Linked DNA regions of Homo sapiens: region 1 is linked to region 2. Evidence: promoter capture Hi-C in 16 types of primary human blood cells and fetal thymus (Javierre and others, 2016). All regions are on one chromosome and are shown on one strand. Each heading gives the region's core, a stretch centred on a gene start or on the middle of the fragment in contact. The rest is flanking DNA. Distances are from core to core; before and after follow the strand shown. Region 1 holds the start of HEATR1 (HEAT repeat containing 1). Region 2 holds the start of EPRS1 (glutamyl-prolyl-tRNA synthetase 1).

Region 1 (4,884 bases), core at 756-3,255, about 17 Mb before region 2:
GCCAATATTATAGTGAGGGAATACAAGAAATAAACAGGTAAACAAACAGACAAATCAGGTCATTTCAAGTAGTGATAATGGCTATGAAGAAAATACCAGCTTGGTACATCTGTCCGTCAGATAAAAATATATAATTCAAGATTATTACATTTTTTTTAAAACCAAAGCTTTTTTTTAAAAAAAAATTACATTTATGAACATCTGACTTGTTTTCCTTTTTACTTTCCAAAGTAAAATTCGGCATGGCACTATACACCATCACAGCTGACATAGGAAGGACTGAGTCAAATCTTTGTAGCACTTTTTCAAGTTTCACTTAAATAAAGCTTTTAAAAAATATATAGGGTATTTTTTAAGCAAAAAAAGCAAATTATCTTATCAATGAAACAGACCTGGTGTTCATTTCTTTTAAAGTACCGAAAGCTGATTGCTTCTGTAAAGGTAAAACTCCTGTGACATGTTAGAAAGAAAAAAAAAATTCCTTTGAGAGATATGTTTGTAAGAATGAAATAGGTACTACTAGAATTTTCATGTTATTCTCTGCAAGGCACTCAACACCACATGAAAAGAAGATTATTAACAGTCAGTAGAAATACTAATAACTGAAGAAAATATTTGGTTGTTTTAAATGCTTTTAAAGCAAACCAACAACAAAAGATTCTGTTTGTAAATGGGAGAGAATCTGCATGAGGTATAGACAACCAGGGCCTCCAAATTTGTAGCTGTGTTTCTGACATTCTCCAGGGAAGACGGTTACAGAAAGACTTGACCCCCTGGCCCCGCAGAGCTCTTCAGAGAAATTAATGCATCCAGAAAAGACAGAGCATCAGATCTCACTCCTTCGTCTGGAAGACGTCAGTTCATCCTAGTTCTAGCGCATACCGGTGTTTTGGAAACAGATTAGCTATATTCATACATAAGGATACTCTTCCGCAACACTATCTGTAGTGAGGCCAAGACCAGTGGTTGCGGGAATCTTCGCAAACAGGCAAGAGACAATTTTTAGGGGCGATGGAAACTGTCATTTTGACTGGGGAGGTCATTACACCTATACATGCATTTGCTAAAAGTCATCAAACTCTTCCACTGACGTGGGTGTAACCATTGTTTGTAAATTATACCTCAACAGGATTCGATTAATTTATTTATTGAGACAGTCTCGCTCTGTGGAGTGCAGTGGTGCAATCTTGGCCCACTGCAACCTCCGACTCCCGGGTTCCAGCGATTCTTCTGTCTCAGCTTTCCTAGTAGCTGGGATTACAGGCGCCCGCCACCACGTCCGGCTAATTCTTTTATTTTTAGTAGAGACGGGGTTTCGCTATGTTGGCCAGGCTGGTCCCGAACTCCTGACCTCAGGTGATCAGCTCGCCTGAGCTTCCCAAAGTGCTCGGATTACAGGCCGCGCCTGACTATGATTCGTTTTGAAAGAAAAAAATATATGCCATTTACCCCTCGGGAATGGAAACATAGAGGAGTGACAAGATCTCCCCCAAGCTCTGGGGCGGTGGAGTCCAGCATTTATAGATCGGTTTGCACTAGGAGCAGAAGCTCCTTTCACGACAATCTCGGCCTCTTCCCACTTTGTAGAGTGAGTAACAAGCTCGGAGAGATGAAATAATTTGGTGGCGTTAACCCGGCCGACAGGCGCCAGCGCCAGGATTTGAACCCAAACCACGTGACTTCACAACCCATAGCTTTCAACACTACGCGGTGCTGCTGGCACCTAGTAAAGGCTGGATCACTACTGAATGAATGATTCTGGCTACGGATCCTTAAAGCCCACAGAAGGCCCATCCAGAGACCGAAAGCTTCAGACACAAGCCGCAGAGCAGACCGCTAAACCGGAGCTACAGAGGCGAAGCTCAGACTTGAGCCTGAGTCCGGCGGGCTGAGGGGCGGGCTTTCGTCTCGGGAGGCGGAGCTGTCTCGTCGCATTCCCGGCAAGCTTGAACCTCTTCACTTGCCGTAGCGCCTGCAGCAGGAAGTTGCTCTACAGCATGCCTTAGGTTTCCGGGTGAGGGTTGGGCTCCTTGGTACCATGTGGGAAGCGCTGTGAAGAGTTGTTGCCTTCCAAGATATACCCAAATTCCCAGTTCCAGGTAAGCGGCACAGAGCCGCTTGATGTGGCTGCGGATGGGGGCGGCATATCGAGGGAGGGTAAGAGTTTTCCGGATATCTGCGGAATCAGGGTTGAAGGAAAGCCTTGGCGCGGTCGCCGCTACTGTAATTAGTTGTTAACGCTGCTGCCATCGTCTTTGCATCTCCGGGGTCCACAAATCTCAGGACACCCGCGTTGTGTGTCCATGACGGTGCTGAGTGCAGAAGAGAATTGTTTGTTTACGAGGCGCCTTATAATTTCGTAGAAACTTATCAAAGTGCTTACGTTTTTTTAGCCCGTGTCATTAAAACTCCGCTGGCGTGAAAGATGACGTCCTTAGCCCAGCAGCTGCAACGACTCGCCCTCCCTCAAAGTGATGCCAGCCTCTTATCTAGAGATGAAGTTGCTTCTTTGTTATTTGACCCTAAGGAAGCGGCCACAATCGACAGGGACACCGCCTTCGCCATTGGTGAGCCATCTTTTAACTTAGAAAAGCTCTTGGAAGCGTTTGTTTTCTGGATGTTACTGTTTTTTTTTTTTCCCCTTGTTTTCTCTTCTGTCCCGTCCTCTTCCTTAGCAGTTTCTAGCATGTTGATGTATATTTTTAAGGGAAAGAGAACATAACAGTCAGGTGCTTGGTGCTTGAAATGTTTATGAGTAGAGGTATCTGGATTTCACAGATGAAGAAACAAAATTAGAGAGGTCAACTAATATGTCAAAGAGAAGAACAGCTAAAAGGGGGATGGAGGCAGTGACTGGGGTGACGGAGAAGTCCTCTCAGAGGACTGGCCTAGTTATTGTAGGGGATATCCAAAAAAAAAAAAAAAAAAGTGTTCCCTGCCACGAAGTACTTTCTGTTCTAGTAGATGAGATAGGATTTACTCTAAAAGTTGAAAACTAGAAATCAGTGTTTGGGACTGTATTATAAATTATATGTACTTAAAGAATTCAGAAACTTCTTAGGGGTAAGTAAAACTGTAAAAGAGGGGTGGGATGAATTTGCTTACGAAGAATTGTTAAATAAACTGGCCTTTTTTGAAATTTAGGATGTACTGGCCTGGAAGAGTTGCTTGGAATTGATCCTTCCTTTGAGCAGTTTGAAGCACCGTTGTTCAGTCAGCTAGCAAAAACCTTGGAGCGAAGTGTTCAGACCAAAGCAGTAAACAAACAGTTGGATGAAAACATTTCATTATTCCTTATTCACTTGTCGCCTTACTTCCTGCTTAAGCCAGCACAGAAGTGTCTGGAGTGGTTGATTCACAGGTAGCTAATAGAATTACAGAAATAACTATGGGTTAATCACTTTGGTCTTGTAAAAAATTAAGTAGTTGAGAACTTATCAAATTAAAGCTGAAAAATTAGGTATATTAAGAGATTGATACAATGTCCATTGTGTGAGATAAGCATGCTCTTCTGCCTTTAAATTCTTTTTTGTTGATAGTGAAAAGTAGAACTACTGGTGATTTTGAGTAAATGGTCTAACCTCATTAGTTTTTTTTTGAGATAGAGTCTTGCTGGGCACTCAGGCTGGAGTGCAATATTGAAATCTTGGCTCACTGCAACCTCTGCCTCCCAGGTTCAAGTGATTCTCCCACCTCAGCCTCCCAAGTAGCTGGGATTACAGGCACCTGCCATAATGCCTGGATGAGTTTTGTGTTTTTGTAGAGATGGAGTTTCACCGTGTTAGCCAGGCTGGTCTTTAACCCCTGACCTCAGGTGATCCACCCGCCTCGGCCTCCCAAAATACTGGGATTACAGGTGTGAGCCACCTCGCCCAGCCTAACCTCGTTAGTTCTGAAGAGCCCATGCTACTTTGCCATTACAGCTTGTTCCTGCACACTTGAGGCAGTGAGTACTAAGCTGCTTTCTTGGCAAAATAACAAGATGGTTGGGGAAGCAGGCAATGTTATCCTCTGAAATACCATTGCTTGAGAAAAACAATGATAGCTAATGTGTTTTTGAGCATTTATACACTAGGCCCTGGTAAGCACTTTATCTGCATTATCTCATTTAATTCTCACAGCATTCCTCTGGTGAGATTATTTGTATTATCCTTGTTTTACAGTTGAGAAAACTGAGGCTTAGAGGGATTAAGTTTCTTGAGTCACACAGCTAGTAAGTGGCAGAGCTAGGATACAGCTGAAGTTTATTTCCAAGGTCTGATCTTTTATCTGCTTTGGGAATTGTCTCAGTAAGCTTAGTTTATTTTCTCACATATTGGTGTCACATCACAGCATACACATTTTTGTTTTATTTATTCTCCCAATATGTATGTCTTTTTTTTTTGAGACAGTCTCGCACTGTCGCCCAGGCTGGAGTGCAGTGGCACGATCTCATCTCACTGCAACCTCCACCTCCCAGGTTCAAGCAATTCTCCTGCCTCAGCCTCCCAAGTAGCTGGGATTACAGGCACATACCACTACGCCCAGTTAATTTTTTGTATTTTTTTTTTTTTAGTAAAGATGGGGTTTCATCACGTTGGCCAGGCTGGTCTCAAACTCCTGACCTCGTGATCCACTCGTCTTAGCCTCCCAAAGTGCTGGTGTGAGCCACCACAGCCACTGCACACGGCTGTCTTTTTATTTTTATTTTATTGAGTGTCAGGATTTCACTCACCCAGGCTGGAGTGCAGTGGTGTGATCGTGGCCCACTCGATCTCCAGGGCTCAAATGATCCTCCGATCTCAGCCACCCAAGTAGCTGGGATTACAGGCATGCACCACCATGCCCACCTAGTTTTTTTTTTGTTTGTTTGTTTTTGTTTTTGTTTTTCCATTTTTTGTAGAG
Region 2 (5,479 bases), core at 1,798-4,297:
AAGAATATATAAGAAACCAGCGGCAAACACTATTCTTTTTTTATTTTTATTTTCAGGGAAAGGGTCTTGTTCTGTCATCCAGGCTATAGTGCGGTGGCGCGATCATAGCTCACTGTACCTTCAAACTCCTGGTCTCAGGTGATCCTCCCATCTGGGCCTGCCAAAGTGCTGACATTACCAGCAAGAGCCATTGCAGCCAACCTAGCAGACACTATTCTTTTTTTTTTTTTTTTGAGACAAAGTTTTGCTCTTATTGCCCAGGCTGGAGTGCAATGGTGCCATCTAGGCTCACTGCAACCTCTGCCTCCTGGGTTCCAGTGATTCTCCTGCCTCAGACTGCCAAGTAGCTGGGACTACAGGCATGCACCACTACTCCAGGCTAATTTTGTATTTTTAGTAAAATGACGCGGTTTCACCATATTCACCAGGCTAGTCTCGAACTCCGGACCTCAGGTGTTCTGCCTACCTCAGCCTCCCAAAGTGTTGGGATTACAGGTATGAGCCATTACACCTGGCTTACAGACACTATTCTTTAACATTTTTTTTTTTGAGACGGACTTTTTGCTCTTGTTGCCCCGGGCTGGAGTACAGTGGCATGATCTCTGCTCACTGCAACCTCCAGCTCCCAGGTTCATGCGATTCTCCTGCCTCAGCCTCCTGAGTAGCTGGGATTACAGGCATGCACCACCACGCCCAGCTAATTTTGTATTTTTAGTAGAGACAGGGTTTCACCATGTTGATCAGGCTGGTCTCGAAGTCCTCTACTTAGGTGATCCACCCACCTCGGCCTCCCAAGTGCTGGGATTACGGGTGCGAGCCACCGTGCCCGGCCACAGACACTATTCTTGATAATGCAACATTAGCGGCATTCCCACTAAAGTCAGGAACAAAGCAAATACTCTCTTATTCGACACTATTATTGCTCCCATTTAACATCATTCTGGAAGTTCTAGCCAATGAAAGAGATAAGATATAGGTCATGTAAATTTTGGATAGGAAGAAAATGATATTTACCTAGAAAATCCAACATAACTAAAAAATGATTGGAACTAGTAAAAGCATCCAACAAGATGGTAACTCTAAGACCTAAGACTTTCTGCTATAAGTCCCACTATCCTGAAAGTAGGCTTCTTTTTTTTTTTTTTTTTTTTTATTGAGATGAAGTTTTGCTCCTGTTACCCAGGCTGGAGTGCAATGGCGTGATGTCAGCTCACCGAAACCTCTGCCTCCCAGGTTCAAGCGATTCTCTGGCGTCAGCCTCCCGAGTAGCTGGGATTACAGGCATGCACCACCACACCCAGCTATTTTTTTGTATTTTTACTAGAGATGGGGTTTCTCCATGTTGGCTTGGCTGGTCTCAAACTCTCGACCTTAGGTGATCCGCCCGCCTCAGCTTCCCAAAGTGCTGGGATTACAGGCATGAGCCACCGCGCCTGGCCTCAAGTCTCATGGGAGATGTAATCTAAGGGGCCCTCCCTAATGAAAACAAGGATGTCTTGGGGAGGTTAAGAAAAAGTGTAGGCGAGGATGTGGTTGAGATGGTTCTTGGAATCCATCCCGGGTCCCCGTACTTTAACACCAGCCCTTGAAATATGGGTGCAGCTCACACACACGAATGTGTGTATACACCTTGGAGTATCTCTGGAGCTCATGCATGCACGTCCGTCACAAAGGATTTGAAAGGGAGAATCAGATGAGACGCTGAAAAAAACACCTGTGGACTCCATGATTGGGGGCGGCATCGGAGGGTTTTTTTGTTTTGTTTTTTAGATCAGGTCTCTCCCTGTGTCGGCCAGGCTGGAGGGTAGTGGCTACTCACAGGCAAGTCCACGGCGAGGCCACTACAGCCTCATCTTCCTGGGCTCAGGCGATCCTGCCTCAGCCTTCTTAATAGCTGAGACTACAGGAGCGCGCCACTGCGCCTATCTGCAGTGATTTTTTGTTTGTTTTGAAACGGGGTCTCAGTCTGTCGCCCAGGCTGGAGTGCAGTGCCGCGATCTCGGCTCACCGCAACCTCCTCCTCCCGGGTTCAAGCGATTCTCCTGCCTCAGCTCCCCAAGTAGCTAGGATTAAAGGTGCGCGCTACCATTCCCGGCTAATTTTTGTACTTTTAGTAGAGACCCCCGTCTCTACAGTTTCACCATGTTGGTGAAGCTGGTCTCCAACTCCTGACCTCGAGATCCGCTCGCCTCCGGCCTCCCAAAGTGCTGGGATTACAGGCCTGAGCCACCGCGCCCGGCCTCTGCTGTGATTTTTTTTTTTTTTCTTTTCGAGAAGGAGTCTCACTCTGTCGCCCAGGCTGGATGCAGTAGCACGATCTCGGCTCACTGCAACCTCCACCTCCCAGGTTCAAGCGATTCTCCTGCCTCAGCCTCCCAAGTAGCTGGGATTACAGGGGCCCACCACCATGCCAGGCTAATTTTTGTATTTTTAGTAGAGATGGGGTTTCACCATGCTGGCCAGACTGGTCTCGAACTCCTGACCTCAGGTGATCCGCCCGCCTACACCTTCTAAAGTGCTGAGATTACAGGCGTGAGCCACCACGCCCGGCCTGCAGTGATTTTTAAAGAGTCTTTTATATTTCCTTTAACCATTATTTTCAACACGCAAATAACTCTTGAAAATACGTTCTTGTTTTGGAAAAAAAAAAACGGGGGGGAATGTATAAAATAAACAACGAGAAAAACTTCTCCCATTCCCAACGTAATCATGGCTATCGTGTGTATGCTTCCAGGACTTTTCTTTTTACATAAAGACAGTGCATGCTTTTGTTTCGTGCTTCACATAAACGCCTATCCCATCTTAAAGATGGTTTTACAACCTGCTGTTTTACGACCTGCTGACTTGACGAAGTGTCGTAAAGTCCCGTCCACTTCAGCGTCTTTCCCACCGCAGCACGAAAGGCCACGCAGGCCGTTCTAACCCTGGCGGCCAAGAGGAGGGGTAGCAGGCTCTGGAACCTGCGGGCGGGGACGAAGACGGCGCGCGACGATGTCGCACCGCGGCGTGCGCGGTGTCGGCAGTAGCTGCGGCGCAGGGGCGGAGCGAAGGCTGCGGCGGCGTCGGGTACGCGCACACGTTGCATCTTCTTCCTTTCGCGGGGTCCTCCGTAGTTCTGGCACGAGCCAGGCGTACTGACAGGTGGACCAGCGGACTGGTGGAGATGGCGACGCTCTCTCTGACCGTGAATTCAGGAGACCCTCCGCTAGGTAAGGGGCCGAGACCAATGACCTGTGTGGGTTGCATCAGCCAGGGAGGGTGCAGGGCGTGGAAGGTCGCTGCGCCCCGGCTTTGCGCAGTGGTGGTCACCATCTGGGATGTTGGACCTGCCCCTCGCCCCAGAATTGTACGTGGAGGAGGCTCCGCACCCCTCGCCCCGTGTCCCCGGCAGGTGCATCTGCTCCTGAAGATGGTTTTCCCGGGCATGGAGGGAGGCGCAGTGTGAGCCCGGGCTAGACAACACGAGACTCCGCTTCGGATCTTTTTCTCAGAGGGATGAACTCCCAGTCAACTCACCTCTCCCTTTTTCCCCCGGAGAGCGAGAGTTGCTCGTGGAAATAAGATTTTAAAACTTAAAATCCAATAGTCGTCGCTTCTCTTTTAGCATTTTTCCCCCAACTCCTTTTCTTACCTCCTTTCCTGTCCTGTCCCTCCTCTCAGGAGAAATCCTCAGTTCACTTGAGTCAAATTTTCCTTACGTTTTATCGAGTTCAGAAGAAATAACCCAGACGAGCATATTAGCATTTAGGATTTCAACTGAGGCTGCATTTATTTTTAATTAAATGTGGTAGGGTAATTGGGGAAAACACCCAGGTACACTGTAGACTGATGCGGTTGCTTTTACTGCACCCTGTGGATGTGTAGTAAATTTCAGAGTAAACATTGGATCTGTCACCTTACTGACACATCTTAAGTTCTGTTTGGAATTATTTTTTCGACATGACCAAGATTATTGTTGGTAGATTGCTTAGAATTTCTGCTTTTTCATTACTTTGGGAAATTACACAGAAGAATTTAAGTAGTTTGCCGATTTTTTTTTTTCTTTTGAGAGTCAGGGTCTTGCTCTATCGTCCAGGCTGGAGTGCAGTGGCGCTTTCAAGGCTCACTGCAGCATCGAACTTCCGGGCTCAGATGATCCTCCCACCTCAGCCTCCTTAGTAGCTGGGACTACAGGCGCGTGCCACCATGCCTGGCTAATTTTGTGTTTGTGTCTTTTTTGGAAAGATGGCGTTTCACTGTGTTGCCCAGGCAGGTCTCAAACTCCTGGGCTCAAGCCATCCTGACTTGGCCTCCCAAAGTACTAGGATTACAGGCGTGAGCCACAGTACCCAGCCTGACCTAATATTTGTTAATGCATATGTATGATAATACACACACAGTACTTTCTAATGTTGAAGAAGCCCATACCTTTATATACAGTTGACCACGTGGGGCTGATGAAATTATTCATTATATTCTCAACTTTGGTGATGTTTTAAGGTTGTTGAACAAAAACACAACTTAATAGCCATTTTAAACATTTAAAAGATGGTAATGTTTTGGCATATTGGTTGCAGTAATGGACTAACCGCACAACAAATCAATGAACTCTAAAAGGAATGGGTTTGATTCCTGAGCTGGAAAGGCATTAGAGTGCCTTCATGATTGAGAGCAAAGACATTTGGTTTCTGCAGACCTGAGTCCAATCCTGGCTGCCACTTACTAGTTGTGAAACCTTGACAAGTTCCTTATTTAGCTTCTCCCATAGTTTCCTTGTTTTAAGAAAGGGAGAATAATGTCTTCCAGATAGGATTGGTTGCCAGAGTTAAGTGAGACTATAGTTAAAGCTCCTGATACTGTTTTTTTTTTTTTTTTTTTTTTTTTTTTTTTTGGAGACCGAGCTCATTGCAACCTCTGCCTCCCAGGATCAAGCAATTCTTGTTCTCAGCCACACGAGTAGTTGCGCTTAGAGGTGCGCACCACCATGCCCGCCTAATTTTTGTATTTTTTAGTAGACACAGCATTTTGCCATGTTGGCCAGGCTGGTCTCAAACTCCTGACCTCAAGCAGTCCGCCCGCCTTGGCCTCCCAAAGTGCCAGGACCACAGGTGTGAGCCACCATGCCCAGCCTCCTGATACATTTTTTGTTACTTAGAAAATCACCCTGAAGGTGGCCTGTTTCTGTAGTGTATTACAGAACTCAGAATTCTGCCAGTATTCTGTGAAACTCTTGTCATTTTGAACTGTATGCCAGTTATCAAATATATCATTTTTCTAATTGCTCCTCTCCCTTTTTAATTTTTGATTTAATTATTCCCAGTTTAATTCAATTACATTTTATCTTTAAGTAATATAATTAGATGAAACATTTTAAAATAATAGTTGCATTGCTAGAATTTTCCTATTTTGTATGCATTCATCATGTTATATATTTAATGTTAATTTCAAACTTAAAATAAAGACCTTTTTCCCCCATACCACCCAAGAGCATACTGTAGAT

Evidence for each region. The method cuts DNA at HindIII sites, captures the fragments that hold promoters and counts their contacts. A CHiCAGO score of 5 or more calls a contact.
Region 1: the fragment with the promoter of HEATR1 here is called in contact with the fragment with the promoter of EPRS1 in region 2 in 3 of 17 cell types (naive CD4 T cells, total CD4 T cells and non-activated CD4 T cells); the score reaches 12.3 in naive CD4 T cells.

What each region holds. Positions count from the first base shown.
Region 1 is chr1:236,601,637-236,606,520 of GRCh38, reverse strand. HEATR1 (HEAT repeat containing 1) reads left to right here and starts at 2,005. Exons shown (of 45, transcript NM_018072.6): 1 at 2,005-2,099; 2 at 2,394-2,567; 3 at 3,145-3,361. The coding sequence starts at 2,426. RefSeq lists an enhancer at 1,805-2,064. The HindIII fragment of the contact is 2,349 bases long and covers 1,948-4,296 here.
Region 2 is chr1:220,044,073-220,049,551 of GRCh38, reverse strand. EPRS1 (glutamyl-prolyl-tRNA synthetase 1) reads left to right here and starts at 3,047. Exons shown (of 32, transcript NM_004446.3): 1 at 3,047-3,209. The coding sequence starts at 3,164. RefSeq lists enhancers at 2,836-2,905, 2,966-3,295, 3,337-3,894. The HindIII fragment of the contact is 10,455 bases long and covers 1-5,479 here.